Linked DNA regions of Homo sapiens: all the other regions are linked to region 4. The links are contacts of gene promoters, found by promoter capture Hi-C in blood cells and fetal thymus (Javierre and others, 2016). All regions are on one chromosome and are shown on one strand. The core of a region is centred on a gene start or on the middle of the fragment in contact, and the rest is flanking DNA. Distances in the headings are between cores, read along the strand shown.

The links. The method cuts DNA at HindIII sites, captures the fragments that hold promoters and counts their contacts. A CHiCAGO score of 5 or more calls a contact.
Region 1: a contact is called between the fragment with the promoter of HABP4 here and the fragment with the promoter of TSTD2 in region 4, in 2 of 17 cell types (naive B cells and fetal thymus). The highest score is 7.5, in naive B cells.
Region 2: the fragment with the promoter of ZNF367 here is called in contact with the fragment with the promoter of TSTD2 in region 4 in 1 of 17 cell types (erythroblasts); the score reaches 7.4 in erythroblasts.
Region 3: the fragment with the promoter of GALNT12 here is called in contact with the fragment with the promoter of TSTD2 in region 4 in 1 of 17 cell types (fetal thymus); the score reaches 5.9 in fetal thymus.

What each region holds. Positions count from the first base shown.
Region 1 is chr9:96,448,744-96,452,595 of GRCh38, reverse strand. HABP4 (hyaluronan binding protein 4) reads right to left here and starts at 2,427. Exons shown (of 8, transcript NM_014282.4): 1 at 1,968-2,427. The coding sequence starts at 2,316. RefSeq lists silencers at 1,910-1,959, 2,040-2,099, 2,110-2,649 and an enhancer at 2,930-3,009. The HindIII fragment of the contact is 2,057 bases long and covers 688-2,744 here.
Region 2 is chr9:96,416,226-96,419,966 of GRCh38, reverse strand. It overlaps ZNF367 (zinc finger protein 367), which reads left to right and starts at 1,597. Exons shown (of 5, transcript NM_153695.4): 1 at 1,597-2,354. The coding sequence starts at 1,935. RefSeq lists silencers at 451-720, 981-1,640, 1,751-1,890, 2,191-2,430 and enhancers at 249-782, 783-1,316, 2,791-3,030. The HindIII fragment of the contact is 11,520 bases long and covers 1-3,741 here.
Region 3 is chr9:98,805,372-98,809,307 of GRCh38, reverse strand. GALNT12 (polypeptide N-acetylgalactosaminyltransferase 12) reads right to left here and starts at 1,638. Exons shown (of 10, transcript NM_024642.5): 1 at 1,239-1,638. The coding sequence starts at 1,609. LOC124902229 (a long non-coding RNA gene) reads left to right here and starts at 1,728. Exons shown (of 2, transcript XR_007061689.1): 1 at 1,728-2,537. RefSeq lists silencers at 1,497-1,566, 1,667-1,756. The HindIII fragment of the contact is 2,789 bases long and covers 1-2,669 here.
Region 4 is chr9:97,632,103-97,635,830 of GRCh38, reverse strand. It overlaps TSTD2 (thiosulfate sulfurtransferase like domain containing 2), which reads left to right and starts at 2,463. Exons shown (of 10, transcript NM_139246.5): 1 at 2,463-2,588. NCBP1 (nuclear cap binding protein subunit 1) reads right to left here and starts at 2,010. Exons shown (of 23, transcript NM_002486.5): 1 at 1,916-2,010. The coding sequence starts at 1,949. RefSeq lists enhancers at 1,513-1,592, 1,150-1,985, 2,150-2,444, 2,213-2,542. The HindIII fragment of the contact is 4,009 bases long and covers 1-3,554 here.

The DNA of each region.
Region 1 (3,852 bases), core at 1,178-3,677, 1.2 Mb after region 4:
CTACAAAATCAACTAAATACCTTTAGTTGATTTCAAAAGCCAGATCACTTAGACCTAACAACTGACAGAAAAAAAAAGTTACGAGTGTACTACATGACAACATCAAGTGCAGGAAACAGGTTGCAACCCAGTTTATATCATTTAAGTTTAGAAAGAAAAGAAATAGCTCTGTGCATTTATGTATATAAATGCAAAGTGTTAGTAGGAAAAATAAGAGGATTTTCACTTAACCTCATACATTTTGGAATTGCTTAAAATTCTTAACACAAAAATGCATGACAATTTTAAAAAGGCTAAAAATCAATGTATTAACAGCACTAACTCGTCTCACGTTTTTCTGAAGCACAGAATTTTTTTTTTTTTTTTTTTGTGACGGAGTCTCGCTCTTTCTCCCAGACTGGAGTACAGTGGCTCGATCTCGGCTCACTGCAAGCTCCGCCTCCTGGGTTCACGCCATTCTCCTGCCTCAGCCTCCCGAGTAGCTGGACCTACAGGTGCCCGCCACCACGCCCGACTAATTTTTTGTATTTGTAATAGAGACGGGATTTCACCGTGTTAGCCAGGATGGTCTCGATCTCCTAACCTCGTGATCCGCCCGCCTCGGACTCCCAAACTGCTGGGATTACAGGCGTGAGCCACCACACCCGGCATTTTCATTTGTTAAAAAATAAAGGGTGAAGAAAAGCTTAGCCTTCCTCAATTCCTTTATTATATTGATGTAAATAAGTTTAAGAGAAAAAGATAAAAAACAGGATATAAAATGCACAATGTATCTCCAGTCTCACTGTTTAGATAGGCTCAGAAATTTACTGGCCTACCAAAGTGTCGTGAGATAGTAAATAACATTTTTTTAAAAATCATTTTCAACATCTTTATTGTAGTGACTTGATTCTCAAGTGATGACTCTGGATTTAGCTTTTCACAAATAAAGGTAAACATTACCCAGCTGCACATCAAAGCCCTAATACTTAAACCTGAGACGTTTCCTCAGGGCTGCGATGCACAATTTTTATCAAGCAAGGAACAAACCAATAAAGCCAAGTTGAACACACTGGCAAACGTCGGCAGGAATGGTCAACCTACACATCTTAATCCTAACACTCTGCAAACCTTGGGACCGCTGCCTCATTTCAAGAAAACAGGAAACACAGGTGGAGTGTTGCTGGCTCTGCCACTGACGCAGTTCGGTGAGAGAATGAACTCTGAAGCACCCTCCCCGTCCACAGGCAGCAGGACACCACGCTGCGCACCGGTTTTTCTTGCTAAATAGGGAGTGGGGAACTCCGAATATTCTTGCTGGAAAGGTTAAAAACGCTTTTCTTAAAGCAGCCTTGAGCTATTTATAAGTTGCACATCCCATCAACACCACACGAAGTACTGAAATACGATGCCGGCTGCCTCCTGGAAGCTACCGGACGGAGAAGGGGCGAAGGCGCCAGGCCGGACCGCGCCGGGGACCCCCGCCCGGGCCCCGACGTCACAGGCCGCCCCGCGGTCGCCCAGGCCTCCGGCATCACAGAGGCCCCCAGCCCCGGGACCAGGCGCCCTCCTCCTCCCCACCGCGCTCTCGGGTGGCTCCGACCTCAATCTTGCAGAGGCTGGGCTGGAAGATGAAGGTCCCCGCCAGGTCTGGATGTGGGAGCCCCGGGGTAGCGACCTCAGCCGTTCGCCCCCACACGCCACCCAGACAACCTCCCTCAACTTCGTCCAACTTGCCGTAGAGCCTCAGTGCCAGGGTTCGAGGGCCCTATCCCACCCCAAGCCAGCGTTTCCCCCGGAGCCCCGCACGAGGCTGGCGAGAGCTGGAAGGGGTGTGACCCCTGCCCCTCTCCTCCTACCTTCGGCGGCCACCAGGACCCTCAACTCTCCCTACTGTTCCCGGGCCCCTCCTCCTGAAACCGGCCCCCGGGACCCCAGTCTCACAGCGGGCCGAGCCGTGGTCCGCTAACCCCGCTGTCCCCGCGTACCCGGCGCCTGCAGGCCGCCCCCGGGGCTATCGGGCCGCTGAGCGACGGGCGCCGGGAGGCTCTTGCGCTCCTTCTGCGACTCCCTCCGGCCGCCCGCGCCGGCTCTGTGGCCCGAGGCCCCGGCTGGGCTCCTGCCGCCGCGGGGACCGGCCCCGGCCGCCGCCGCCGCCTCGTCGCGCCTCTTGCGCTGCAGCTGCTGCTGGCGCCGGCGCTCGGCCTCGCGCAGGATGTCGAACGGGTCCGACTCGTCGTCCAGCAGCTGATGGAAGCGGTTGGCCACCACGCAGCCGAAACTCTCCTGCATCGCGGCGCCAGCGGCAGCCACGGGACTCCCCAGAGCGCCCTTCATGCCGCCGCGACCACTGCGGGCCCGGGAGGGCAGCCCACGCGAGCGCGTCTCAGCGAAGCCGGCGGCCAGGACCCATGCCGCCCGCTCCGCCGCCACCGCCCTCCGGGCCCTACCCTGTCCGGCCCCTACCGGCGCCCGCCCCCGCGGCGCCGCCGCCGTCCGCCCCGCTGCGCCAGACAGCCAGTCAGCGCGCGCGGGTGCGCCCCCTTTCCGACACGGCGCGCCTGGAGACCCAATCACCGACCGGCTGCTGTCACGTCACGCGACCTCTGGGCCCCGCCCCGTTCGCTCAGCAGGGAGGGGCGGGGCCCAGGGGCGGAGCTACTGGCTGGTCCAGGCGGCGCCGACGAAGCGGTGGGGTCTCGGCTGTGTGTGCTTTCTCCCGGGACTGCGACCGTATTTGCTATGGGCCACTCTGCTTTGAAGCTTATGTATACATTTAGCCGTGCAACAGCTACATATTGCGCACTTACCGTGTGCCAGGCATTATGTTGTAGGAAATACTAGCTCCGTGTTGTCACAGATCTGAGTCTGTAGATGGAGAAAAAGTGCCCTGAAGGACAGGCGCAGAGCTCTCTACGGGCTGCAGCAAAGGGATCTGACCTAATTGGGAAATGACAGTTAAGCCGAGGGAGAGGGGTGACAAGGGGTTGGAGGAGGAACAGCAAGTGCAGCAGTCTTGAGGTGGGATGTGCACAGCCTATTCAAGCTCAAAGTGGTCTCTATTCTAAGAGCAGTGGGAAGCAAGTTTTGAGCATGAGCAGATTTGGGTTTGAAAAGGCCACCCTACCTGCACTGTGAACTAATAGTTTGGAGGGAAATACAAATGGATGCTGGGAAGCCAAACATGATTGTTGCAAAGCTCCAGGGAAGAGTTGATAGTGACTGGGATTAGGATGGTGGCGGTGGAGGCGAAGAGAGTAGATGGATTCAAAGACTTGGTGATGCGCTAGAGGTGGTGATGAGGGAGAAGAAGATACGGTGACTCTTATTTTCCTGGCTCCAGCATCTGAATGATAGTATTAGTTACCACTGGAAGACACTACTTTAACGGGAATCATTAATTCAGTCTGGGACACGTTGAGGTTTGGATATTTGTTTTCTTTTGAGATATTCAGTTGAGGCCTGGAGCTTAGAGAACGCCGGACTGGACTTCCTCCAGGAAATCTTTGCATAGGCAGCGGTGGAGACACGCTTGGCTGCCTATCCTACAGCCGTTCTTTCCCTCTTACATTTTTCCAGAGCCTGTATTTTGTTCAGGCATCATATTCCCCAGGGGAAGAGGGCCCCTTCCAGCCTCAAACTTGATTAATCATACATTATTCATTGCACCTGATTCCAATTCCTTGCCAGTAATTGGCTTAGGAATAGGCTGTGGGGCAAATCGGGCAGAACAGATCTGAGAAGTATTCTGGGAAAGTTTTTCTTGCACCTAACAAGGGATTGAGAAGGGATCTCCCCCCCTTCTGTTCCCTGGTCTTTGTTCCATGAGAAGACATGATGCCTCGGGTGGCTGTTCCTTAGCGTGGCCATGAG
Region 2 (3,741 bases), core at 348-2,847, 1.2 Mb after region 4:
TTAAAAGGATACTTTCACTTGGTTCAAAGTTCAAAAGATAGTTATATATTGTATTTCTTGAAATCTTTTCACTTCTGTTCCCAGCCACACAATTTCCCTCCATGATCCATGTTTCTTTTGCATCTTGCCAGATATTTTATGTACGTCTAAAAGTAAAAACGTATTTTCCCCACTTTAACAATTTTACATAAAATCACACTATTGCTTGTTTTGCCTTTTAAAATAAAAATACATTTTTGAAATTGTTCATATCAGTACAGTTTCCTTTATTTGTTTTTAAACAATTGTGGCTTAATTTAGTCATAGCTGTGCATTTGTGTGTCTTTCACAGAGAGAAAAGCTATTCAGCTTAGTTATCTGTTATTATACAGTCGTGTTCTAACTTAATTACCAATCCTAACCCTTAACCAATGGATATTCATTCATCCATTCAGCAAATATTTATTGAGCCCCTACCGCGAATCAGGCGGTGCCTGGGAATCTGTATTCCCAAGAACAAAACGCAGCTCCCCAGGCCACATCTAGCGGGTAGGAAGCCGGGCAACCCCTCCGCCCGGTCCTTCCTCTGCAGCCTGCGAGCCCCACCCGGGCCGCGGTCGGCGCCAGCCAGGCGGGGCTGGGGCGGGGCGGGCAGAGGACGTTGGGGCTCCGCGCGTCCCGGCGCGAGTACTAGGACGCGGCCGGGGCAGGTGGGGGCCGAGCAAAGTAGGGCGCTGCCCCGACTCCCGGAGCAGCCGCTCGGTAGAGCGGGGTCGCCGGGGTGGGGAGATCCCCGAGGCAACTTCGGGGCATCAGTCCAGGGTGAGAGTGTCTACTCTCGCCCGGCTCTTGTGGCCTCCGCGCCGCGAGCGGCCCGCAGGGACTTCGGAGGCCACTTCCTGGACTCTCCCCTTTCCACAGATGGGGAACCGGAGGCCCACAATCGGCCCGGAGGAGTCAGGGCGGTGCTGACAGGGCTGGTTCACAGAGCGTGCAACAGCTGAGCAGACGGAACTCGATTAAGAAACCAGGCACGCCGGGTGCCCATCAGGACCTCGGGCAGCAGAGACTCCAGCCGCCGGGCGGGTGGTGGGACCGAGGGCGGGGCGGGCGGCGGGGCCCCAGCCCTTTAAACTCCCTGCGCGCGGGAACCGCGGCCCAACAACCAACGGCGGGCGGGGCCGAGCGGGGCGCGCGCCTCCACCGCCCAACGATCACCACCCCCCCCGACCCCGCCCCGCCGCTGTCCAATCAGCCGCCCTCTTGCCGCCCTCCCCGCCGCCCTTGTCTCCCTGGCCCGGACTAACCACGCGGAGGGACGGCGGGGCGGGGCGGCAGGCGGGTGTGTCCGGGCGAGTGGAGACGCCGCGCGCTCCACTGGAGTTTCGAACGCTGTTGGCCCTCCAGACAGAAAAAAATATAAGAGCGGCGGCCAATGGCGAGGTGGGAAGGACCCGCGCGCAGACCCGGCCCCGCCCCGGCCGGCTGGAAAGAAGGCCAGGCCTGGCCATTGGCTCGCGCCGCCTGTCACTCGCCGGTGCGGCCAGCGGGCAGCGGCCTCGCGGTGACTGGTTCCGCCCAGGCGCGAAATGTAACGCGGGAAAAGCCGGGGCAGGCACCGCGGCGGCAGGTTGTTATTTTTGGGGGCTCAGCGCCGCGCGTCCTGCTTTCCTGTCACCGCAAGGGCCGGGCCGCCCGCTGCTTCCCACCCCTGCAGCCTGCGCTGCGGAGTACAAAGAGCGGAGGGCGCGCTTGACCTGGGGCTGGGGTCCAGCCCTGCCCGCCGGTGCCGTCTGCTCAACTAGTTAGGTGGCTGCTGCGCAGGATTCCGGGAAACGTCAGTCTGCCATGAGCCGGCAGGACTGAGCCTGCGACTCGGAGCAGAGCGAGTGAGGGGCAGAGCGGTGCTCAGGAGTGCGGCCCGGGGCCGCCGGAGCTGGGGGTCGGGCCGGGCGATGATCCGGGGCTTCGAGGCGCCCATGGCGGAGAACCCGCCGCCGCCGCCGCCGCCCGTCATCTTCTGCCACGACTCCCCGAAGCGGGTGCTGGTGTCGGTCATCAGGACGACCCCGATCAAGCCAACGTGCGGCGGTGGAGGGGAGCCGGAGCCGCCGCCGCCGCTCATCCCCACCAGCCCCGGCTTCAGCGACTTCATGGTGTACCCGTGGCGCTGGGGCGAGAACGCACACAACGTGACGCTCAGCCCTGGGGCCGCGGGGGCCGCCGCCTCGGCCGCCCTGCCTGCAGCCGCAGCCGCCGAGCACTCGGGGCTTCGTGGCCGGGGCGCGCCCCCGCCCGCCGCCTCGGCCTCCGCCGCCGCCTCGGGAGGTGAGGACGAGGAGGAAGCGAGCAGCCCAGACAGCGGCCACCTCAAGGTGAGCGGCGCGGGCGGGCGGGCGGGCGGGACGTGGGGCAGCCGGGGCCCGTTAACGGTGCGGCGGGCGGGGCGGAGTTGAAAACGCGAGGTCGATCCGGCTACGGCGGGGGCTGCGGCTGACAGGATGCTGACGTCACTGCCGCGCGCCAAAAACCGGCCCCAGTCGGGGGGGGCCTGTCACGTGACAGGCGGGAGCGGCGCGGGAGACCGTCCTTGCGGCAGGTGCAGTGGGCGGGAGCGCGGCCCGGGGTCGCTGGGGAGGCCGGGTCAACGGCCACTGACATCCTCCCGGCGGGCTGCCGAGTCCTCAGTTCCGAGAGGAAACGAGAGGGATGAGGGCCTTGAGTTGTTCCACCGACTGCGAGAGGGCAGGGAGCGCACAGTGTTTGCTCCATTACTGCAGATCGCCCTCGCCCTGTTAAAAGATGCCCTGCAGAGACAGCCGAAGAGCAAGAAAGGACTTCTGGGCCTGTTCTGCGGCTGAAGTTGTGCCTTCGCTGCCTTTCATTTATCCAGCATACTACTTGCTAGGTGTTGAGAGCACATAGTGGAATGGGACGCTAAAATTGCTTGCAGTCTCCGACTGCTTAAAGCTGGGAAGGTCGTTACCACTGGTTCAAACCTATTTTACAGATCAGGCAGCTGGGGCTTACAGTGATTAGTGAGGCGACCTTCCCACGATGGCACAGCTCAGTAGTGGAAGAGCGGGGACTAGGTCGAGGTTTTGTGGCTTTTAGTCCTGCATGTGTTTGGGGTGACTTTCTGCTGACTTATACTGAACTCTGTAGACTGTAAGCTCCAGGTGAGCCAGGAGTATTTCTATCTAGAAGACTATATGACTTTACTACCTTACATTCTGTAAATGCTCAATAAAGGTGCTCAAAAAATATTTGTGTAATGAATGAATGGTGCTAACAGAAGGGTAATATCCAGGTTCCATTTGTTAAGTGGCTGTATAAGATAAGCAATTTGCAAGAGATAACAAGTAAATCACATAGTGGATAACTGCATCTGTATCAGCACATAATGTATAAGTTGAAACGAGTTTGATCATTTTACATGCAGTCACAAGGATGTTGAAACTACATTGTTTGGGTTTTGAGGAAATTGATATATTTTATGTGGCATTATTATTAAATAATTATAAGGTTATAAAACTATAGGTTTTTATACACTTCAGCTCTTGAAACTGCACCTCAGTAAACATTTGAAAGAACAGAACCTGGGCCGGGTGCGGTGGCTCACGCCTGTAATCCCAGAACTTTGCGAGGCAGAGGCGGGCGGATCACGAGGTCAGGAGATCAAGACCATCCTGGCTAACACGGTGAAACCCCGTCTTTACTCAAAATACAAAAAATTAGCCGGGCTTGGTGGTGGGCGCCTGT
Region 3 (3,936 bases), core at 389-2,888, 1.2 Mb before region 4:
TGAAAAATGCCTCAGGCAGAAGCATGAGGCTAGGCATGAGGAGATCCCCAAAACAGGGAAGACAGTGGAAACAGTGGGGCAGAGGTGGGGCATCCTCATTCCATCATTCATGGTCTCTCTGGCCAAGGTACCATGGAGCAGGCCCCTAAAATCCTGAGATCAGCATGGTGCCAAGTGGGCCAGAAGGGCCATAGTCCCTCCAGACCAGTCCTACCACATTCCAGCTGAGGGGCCTTGGGTGGGTCACCTATCCTTTCCGAACCTATTTCCACACCTGTAAAGCAGGAATGGCTTGAAGGGGAGAGGAGTGGCAGGTGCCTGGTGCACACGGCAGGCTGCCACCACCAGCTCCAATGGGAACCCCCTCTCTGAGTCCTCTTTTCCTCAAAGTCTGTAAGGAAGGGGCTCAAAAAAGGACTTGGAAGATCCCTGACACTTCGAAGAAAAAGTGAGAGCCCGGGAGGCCCAGCGGCAAAGGTGGCAGCAGCCACCTGTCCTTCCTCCTGCTGCCAGCGTGTGCCCTGGATCCCCACCTAGGCAGGGGCGCAACCTGCCCAGCCAGTAGCTCCAACAGGAACTAGGCCTCTGACCACGCTGGCTCCAGTCCAGCACCACCCACAGGAGTGAGCTGGGGTGGATCACGGCCAGAAGGAGCCCTTCCCACCCCGTGCCCCTTCCCGCCTTCCTCCACCCAAAGCTCAGAAATCCAATGCCCAGGGAGAGCACAAGGAGGCTTTCTAGCGCTGAGGGGGCCTTACAGCCATCTTTCGCTTCACCTGTGGGGCGCTCCCTCGCATCTTGTTTGTCCCTTAGGCCCTGGCACACACAGAGAATGAATGGAGCCGGTCACCGCCCGGAGGAGTTGTCAGTTTCGCGGAGGCACTGCGAGGCGGGCAGAGCGGGGTTGTCCTTTGGGTGCTGGGGGGTCCTCGCCTTAAACCCTTCTGCTTAGCCCTGACCCTCACCTTTTCAGGGAGATGATAACTTCTCAAGGAGAAGGGAGCTAAGAGATCACTAACAGACTTGCCAATTTCTGGTAATTTTTTTTCTACTTTCGTCTTTTTTACTTTCTTGCCTCCCCGCCCCCATGTGAGCTCTTACACTATCGTCTTCGGAGAAAGACTCAATAAGACGCGCCATCCTGGAGACCCCAGCTCCCCGCCCTGCCACTGCTCTGATGGAGAAACTGAGGCCCGGGGCTCTGAGGGCGGGCTTCCTCCCCAGAGCTGTGCACTCACAGCGGGTTCCAGCGCTCGGGCAGGCGGCGGTGCAGTGAGATGCGGTCGCTGAGGTAGATGTTAATCTGGTGCAGCCGCACGCTCTCCTCCTGCAGCCGCAGCTCCTCGCCCTGCAGCTGCAGCCGCACCGCCTCGCCCCGCGCGCCCAGCGCGTTCGCCGGCACCGGCGGCCGCGGCATGACCGGCTCGCGCCGCCCGGGGCGCGGGGTGCGCGGGGGTCCCGGCTCGGCAGCCCCGGCCCCGGCCCCACGCTGCGCCCGCAGCACCGAGCCCAGCCCGGCCAACGCCAGTAGCGCCAGGAGCACCAACAGCGCCTCCCGGCCGCGCCGCAGTTCCCGCGGGCAGCGCCGCCGCGCCGTGCGCCCCCACATGCGCCCGCCAACTGCAGCCAGCGATCTGCGCGCCCCAAGGCGGCGGTGGAGGCCAGGACCCGGATCCCGGAACCGCCGTGCCGCCCCGCCCCCGGCCCGCCCCACCTGCGCGCCGCCCCCTTTCCGTCCAGCCCCGCGCCAGCCCAAGCGCAGCCCCCGGGGTGGCTCATTTCGGCAGGGTCTTCAAGTGGGCTGGCTGAGACTTGCATCTTCCTTCTTGGGCTATGGTGCATTATTAAAGAGATAGTGGTGGTAAAACCCTTAGCGCCTGGCATATTGTAGGCGCTAAGTGTTGGCTGAATACACCCTGCAGGGTGTTATGAATTCTACTGCCATTATCTCATCTGATCTTTACACAGTCCAATAAAACAACCATCAACTAGGATTACGAGCTCCCTTTTACAGATGAGGAGATGGAGGTGCGATGAGATCAACAGACACCACGCTGCCCCACTGACTTCTGCAGGCCCAGCCTCTGCCATACTCTTTGGAGTCCTTGAATAGCAAACCCTCGCCTGGCTCGCCTCGTGATAGCTCTGTGACCTCTGAGGCTAGGAGCAAAAGGCCATGAAGGCTGTACATGATAGTTCACACCTGTAATCCCAGGCCGAGATAGGAGGATCACTTGAAGCCAGGAGCTTAAAACGAGACTGGTCAACATAGCAAGACTCCCATCTCTACAGAAAAATTTCAGAATTAGCCATGCATGGTGGCACGTGCCTATAGTGCCAGCTACTCAGGATGCTGAAGCAGGAGGATTGTGTGAGCCCAGGAATTGGAGGTTACCGTGAACTATGCGCCACTGCGCTGCAGCCTGGATGACAAAGCGAGATCCTGTTTCTATTAAACAACAACCAAAAAAGGCCATGAAGCTGCCGCCCTGTTCATGAGATCACTGCTGTGGGAGCCTTGAGCTGCCAGGGACGAAGTAAGTCTAATGGAGTAGACAAATATTAAAAAGATAATTAGAATTGTGTTAAGTATTTTGAAGAAGAATTACAGGGCGCTAAAAGGGCTTAGAATAGTAGAACTTGATCTAGTTTGGGGGTTTTGGAAAGCTTCTCTGATGAAGTAATGTCTACACAGATATCTGAATGTAAAAGTGATAGCAGAGATTTCAAATCATATCTTAAATTAATCTGGAACTCCCTCTGCTGGTGTCTAGCTCAGGGAAAAGAATCATTCTGTATCCCCTGTAGAAGGATAGAGTGTAAGCTCTATTTGTTGTTGTTTGTTTTACCATGGGAAGTTGGTCCAAAGCTTTTTATCAAATATTCTCAAGGAGACCAGAAGCCCAGAAAGTTTAAAAAGCACAAATCTGGTCCAATTATCTCATTGATAAATGCGGGGTCTGAGACACAGGGTGGGGAGAGGACCTTGAACTTGGCGGCTCAGGTAGAGGTAGAATCTGACTTGCTGTTGTCTTCATACAGCCTTTGGCTACTGGTATCCCCAGAGGAAATCTCCCTCAGGTTGCAGGAGGGGGGTGGGTTTTGGGATGAACCATGCAAAGCAGCTCCCACTCAGGACAACCTGCTGCTAATATTAGACTAGAGGGAAGTGGCTCTTCCCACAGTGCTCAGGGCCCCGCCTGCTTCCCACGCAGAATGGAGGCTGCTGGTTAATGCCAGAAGGCGGTTGTGTTAGGTAGGTCTGGACCTGAGCCCTTTGGCCTCTGTTCAGACACCCAACACATTTAAGATCTGCGGTCAGATTAGAAAACAGACAAGGATTACAATTCATAATGTCTTGGATCCGCTTGCCAAATTGGAATGCTTCTCAATAGAGGTTCAGATACAGAGAAAAGAGAAATGCAATTAGGCCTTACAAGACATGGACTTAAGCCCCAGGTAACAGATAAAAGCTATTGTTTACTGAGCACACACTGTGTGCTGTAAACTGCTGGACTTTCTTTTTCATGTACTTTCTCATTTCACCCTATGACAACCTTGCAAGGTTGACAGATGAGAATATGTAGGCTCAAGAAGTGAAGCAACTTGCCCAAGGTTACACAACATGCAAGCGGTAGAGGGAGGATTTGTATCTGGGTCTCCTGACTCACAGTCCAGGATTTCCCACCACACCACTCACTGTTGGGCAGGCTGCAATGAGATGCAAAGGCAGCTTAGCTTAGGAGGTCGGAACACAACCTTGGAGCCCACTTGCCTGAGCTCAACCCAGCCCCATCACGAATTGCAGTGTGACCTCAGGCAAGTTGCTTTACTTATCTCGGCTCAATTTGCTCATCTATTAAATGGTGATCTAATGATAGCACCACCTGAACAGGGTTGTTGAGAAGATTGAGTGATACAGTCTGCACAGTCAGC
Region 4 (3,728 bases), core at 1,214-3,713:
CAACAAAGAAAAGAACAAAAGACTCAAGTTCTCCAGCCCCCAAGTAATGACTTGAGAAGTATATTAGTTTTTGACTAGTCAATTACAAAGCATATGAAAATTGTATTATCGGCGGGCGCAGTAGCTCACATCTGTAATCCCGGCACTTTGGAAGGCCGAGGCGGGTGGATCACCTGAGCTCAGGAGTTCAAGATCAGCCTGGGCAACGTGGCGAAACCCCGTCTCTACAAAAAATACAAAAACAAAAAAAAAATTAGCCGGGCGTGGTGGCCCGCGCCTGTGGTCCCAGTTACTTAGGAGGCTGAGGTGGGAGGATCACTTGAGCCTGAGAGGCGGAGGTTGCAGTAAGCCGAGATCGCGCCACTGCACTCCAGCCTGACAAAGAATGACACTCCGTCTCAGAAAAAAAAAAAAAAGGGAGGGAATTGTATTTTCTGTGCCTTGTACAGAGGTTACACAAGAAACCTCGTGTTAGAAATCAAAGCACGCAGCATAGTTATTTAATTTATACCTGTGTAGTGAAGAGAGCCCCGGACTGGATTCGCTCTTGCTGGTGTTTGGGAACTGACAGCTGTCCCTCCATCTTAGTTATGCTCAGTCTCTAGACCCTTAGGTGTCAGATAGAAAGCTGGACTAGAATATCCTCTCAAGCCATTCCTTCGTAGAAATCTGGTGTTTCACTATTAAAACTAAATGCATGCGATTCTGCCTCCACCTCAACTGCCACAACACTCAAGGAGAGACAAACGTTAGTAGATAAAATTTACTCAATTTAAAATGTCTGTTATGGGTTTTTTTCTTACATTGACAGCATCTGCTAACGTTTACCGCCTCTTAAGCGTTGGCAAATGATAAAACATCATTGTTGCTGATGTGTATTACCTCATTTAACCTTCACAAAAACCAGAAGATATAAATATCATTACTTCTGTATTACAGACTAAAGTTTAAGGAGATTTCATAACCTGGACAAGATCACCAAGTAAATGGTAGGGTCTGGCTTTGAACCTAAACCCTCTGGTTCCAAAGTCTCATCTCTTAACCACTACTATACACTCTCTTCAAAAAACAATACACTAAAATGTTAACAATAGAATTACTCTAAGTTTTACTTTTTTGGTGTGTGGATTTGTGTTTTTGACCGATTGTAAGGCTTATGTGTAATATAAGCATCTTTTTTTTGTTGTTGTTAAAACTAGAATTATTCCATCTTTATGAAGGCAACACTGATCTCCACGAGCACAATCATCCAAACGGAGATGGGAACCCCTGTTCTAACTCTCTCAGAGGCCTGAAGTTAGTTTTCTAGCACTCTCTCTCACACAAGGGAAATGCGCTTACGGCCAGTTCAAAATCTGCAGTAACCTGTGTCTGTTTATTAGGGACCTCTTGGGCGCAGGTAAGACAATATTCTTTCCCTGCAGCTTGAAAGAAGTGAAATCAACGGATAACCACTACCGGAACAGAGTTCAGACTGCAACTCATGAGATCTCTCAGTCCTTTCCTTCAGTGAATTCTTCCGAGCCCTTTTCAGGTGCAGCTTTGAAGGTTAAAACGAGACACTAGGACCAGTGGGTCCCTAAGAGGCGGCAGCACAGACACAGGTGTGCTTCCCTGCTCCGTGGTTTTACGGACGAAATTCTGAAGCATCCTTAGAGACCAAGGGTCTACCCATGGGGTTCACCAGGCCTTCTTTCCCGAGGATCGGCCCTTGACTCAAAGAACTGGGGCGGGGGAGAAGTCGCTTTCTAGAAGCCGCCCGACCACACCGCCACCATATTCTCCTCTTTCCCTCCGCGGCTCCCCGCACGTTCCCGGGGAGAAGAGCTTCCAGTCTCTTCCGTGGACACCCAAAGACGCCGAGCCTCGGCTCCCAACCGGGAGCGGCCTCCGTGGCCGGGCCGCAGGCACTCACCGTCGTTCTCGTCGCTGTGCCGCCGCCGCGACATGCTGCCCTCCGGTGCGCCGCGGAACCGAGAGGCCAGGCGGTAAGCGCTGCAGGAACTGTCTGGCCGCTGGCCGACGCAAGGACAGCTGCAAGGCGCGCGGATGGGCCGGCACGCAGGCGCACTAGCTCGCCACGGCCCCGGAAGCGCAGGAGAGGCCGCCGGGTGGGGCTAGGCGCTGCGACAGCCGGCGTGAGGAAGCTCAGTGGGCTACGAACGTCTGGCACACATGCAACCGCCCCCTCGGGCTGCCTCCGCCTGCCGGCTACTTCTTTCTCCCGCCTTCCGCTCTATGTCCTTCCGGGGCCACGCAGAAAGTGCCGCCGCTTTGGCCACTCAGAGCCCCCGGGCCGCGGTCGTCGTACGCCTGAAGGCGGGTCGTGCCGGCGGCCGCTCTAGTCTCCGCCTCCGCTCAGGCCGGTCCTCCGGGGCTTCTCAATGGTTTCCCGGTGGCCTCTCAATGGTTTTCCCGGCGGCCCTTGCGCCGACGCCAGGAGACTTCCGGAGCTTGGTGACGTCACGAGCGAGCTTTTCTACCCAAATACGCGGCGGGGGAATAGGCTCGAGGGCGGTGAGCAGTGACAATTGCTAGGCGGAGACAGTGCAGGGAAGAGAGACCTTAGAAAGGATCAGGACTGGCGGGTATGTGCTCATCTACTCCCACTTTCCGGCTTTTGCCGCCTTGGGAAAAGTGGGAGGAGAGGTTGGGCCAAGCTCGGCATGCGGGGTGGGGCCTGGGCGGGAGGCGGTGCCGCACGTGCCGCCCCTTGGTATGGAAAGGCCGGCCCTGACGCGAGCGTGCGGCTCCGGGCTTGCCGGCTGGCCGTCATTTTCCTTAAGTTGTTTGCTTAGGAAGGAACAAATGATTGTTTTAGTAATCTGTTTTCAAGGGTTATTGGGTACCTATATGCCTGTGTGTGAGCGTCCCCTCCCCTGATGTCTTTATGAGCACCATACTGGCTTATCTGCTTTGTCCATGGCCATCTGAAATTTCACTCTCCCGGCCTAATTCTCCTTCGGTCTTACCCATTTCAGTAAATGACGTCATCCGTCGGCCGCTTAATCCAAAAATTTAGAGTCTTTCTTAGCTCTTTTCCCTCTTTTTACATAACAATTATCTGTAAACCCTGCCTGCTCTGCTTTCAACACAAATCCAGAATCAGATCGTGTTACTGCTTTGTTTAAAAGTCTCCTATGACGGCCGGGCGGGGTAGCTAACGCTTGTAATCCTAACACTTATGGGAGGCCGACGCGGGCGGATCCGCTTGAGCCTAGGAGTTCAAGACCCACCTGGGCAACAAGGCGAACACCGTCTTTACAGGAAAAAAAAAAAAATTAGCTGAGCCTAGTGTTTGGCGCCTGTAGTCCCAGTTACTCGAGGGGAGGGTTGGGGGCCGAGGTGGGAGGATCCCTTGAGCCCAGGAGGTCGAGAATGCAGTGAGCGGTGATCGCACACTGCACTCCAGCCTGGGCAACAAAGTGAGACCGTGTCAAAAAAAAAAAGTCTCCTACGACTTTCCATTGCACACTCCATGCCATGGCCTGTGGGGTTCTACTTCTCCTCACTGTACTCCAACCACTCTTTCTGTTCTTACAATAAGTCAAGCTTGTTCTTATTTTAGGAACTTATACTATTTCCTTTACCTGAAGGTCTCTGGTTCTAAATCTGCGTGGCTGGCTCTTGGTCACTTAGGTCTCAGCTCAAATGTCAGGTCCTTAGTGAGGCCTTCTTTGGTTACCCAATCACTGTTTTATTTCATTCAACGAATATTATATTTATTA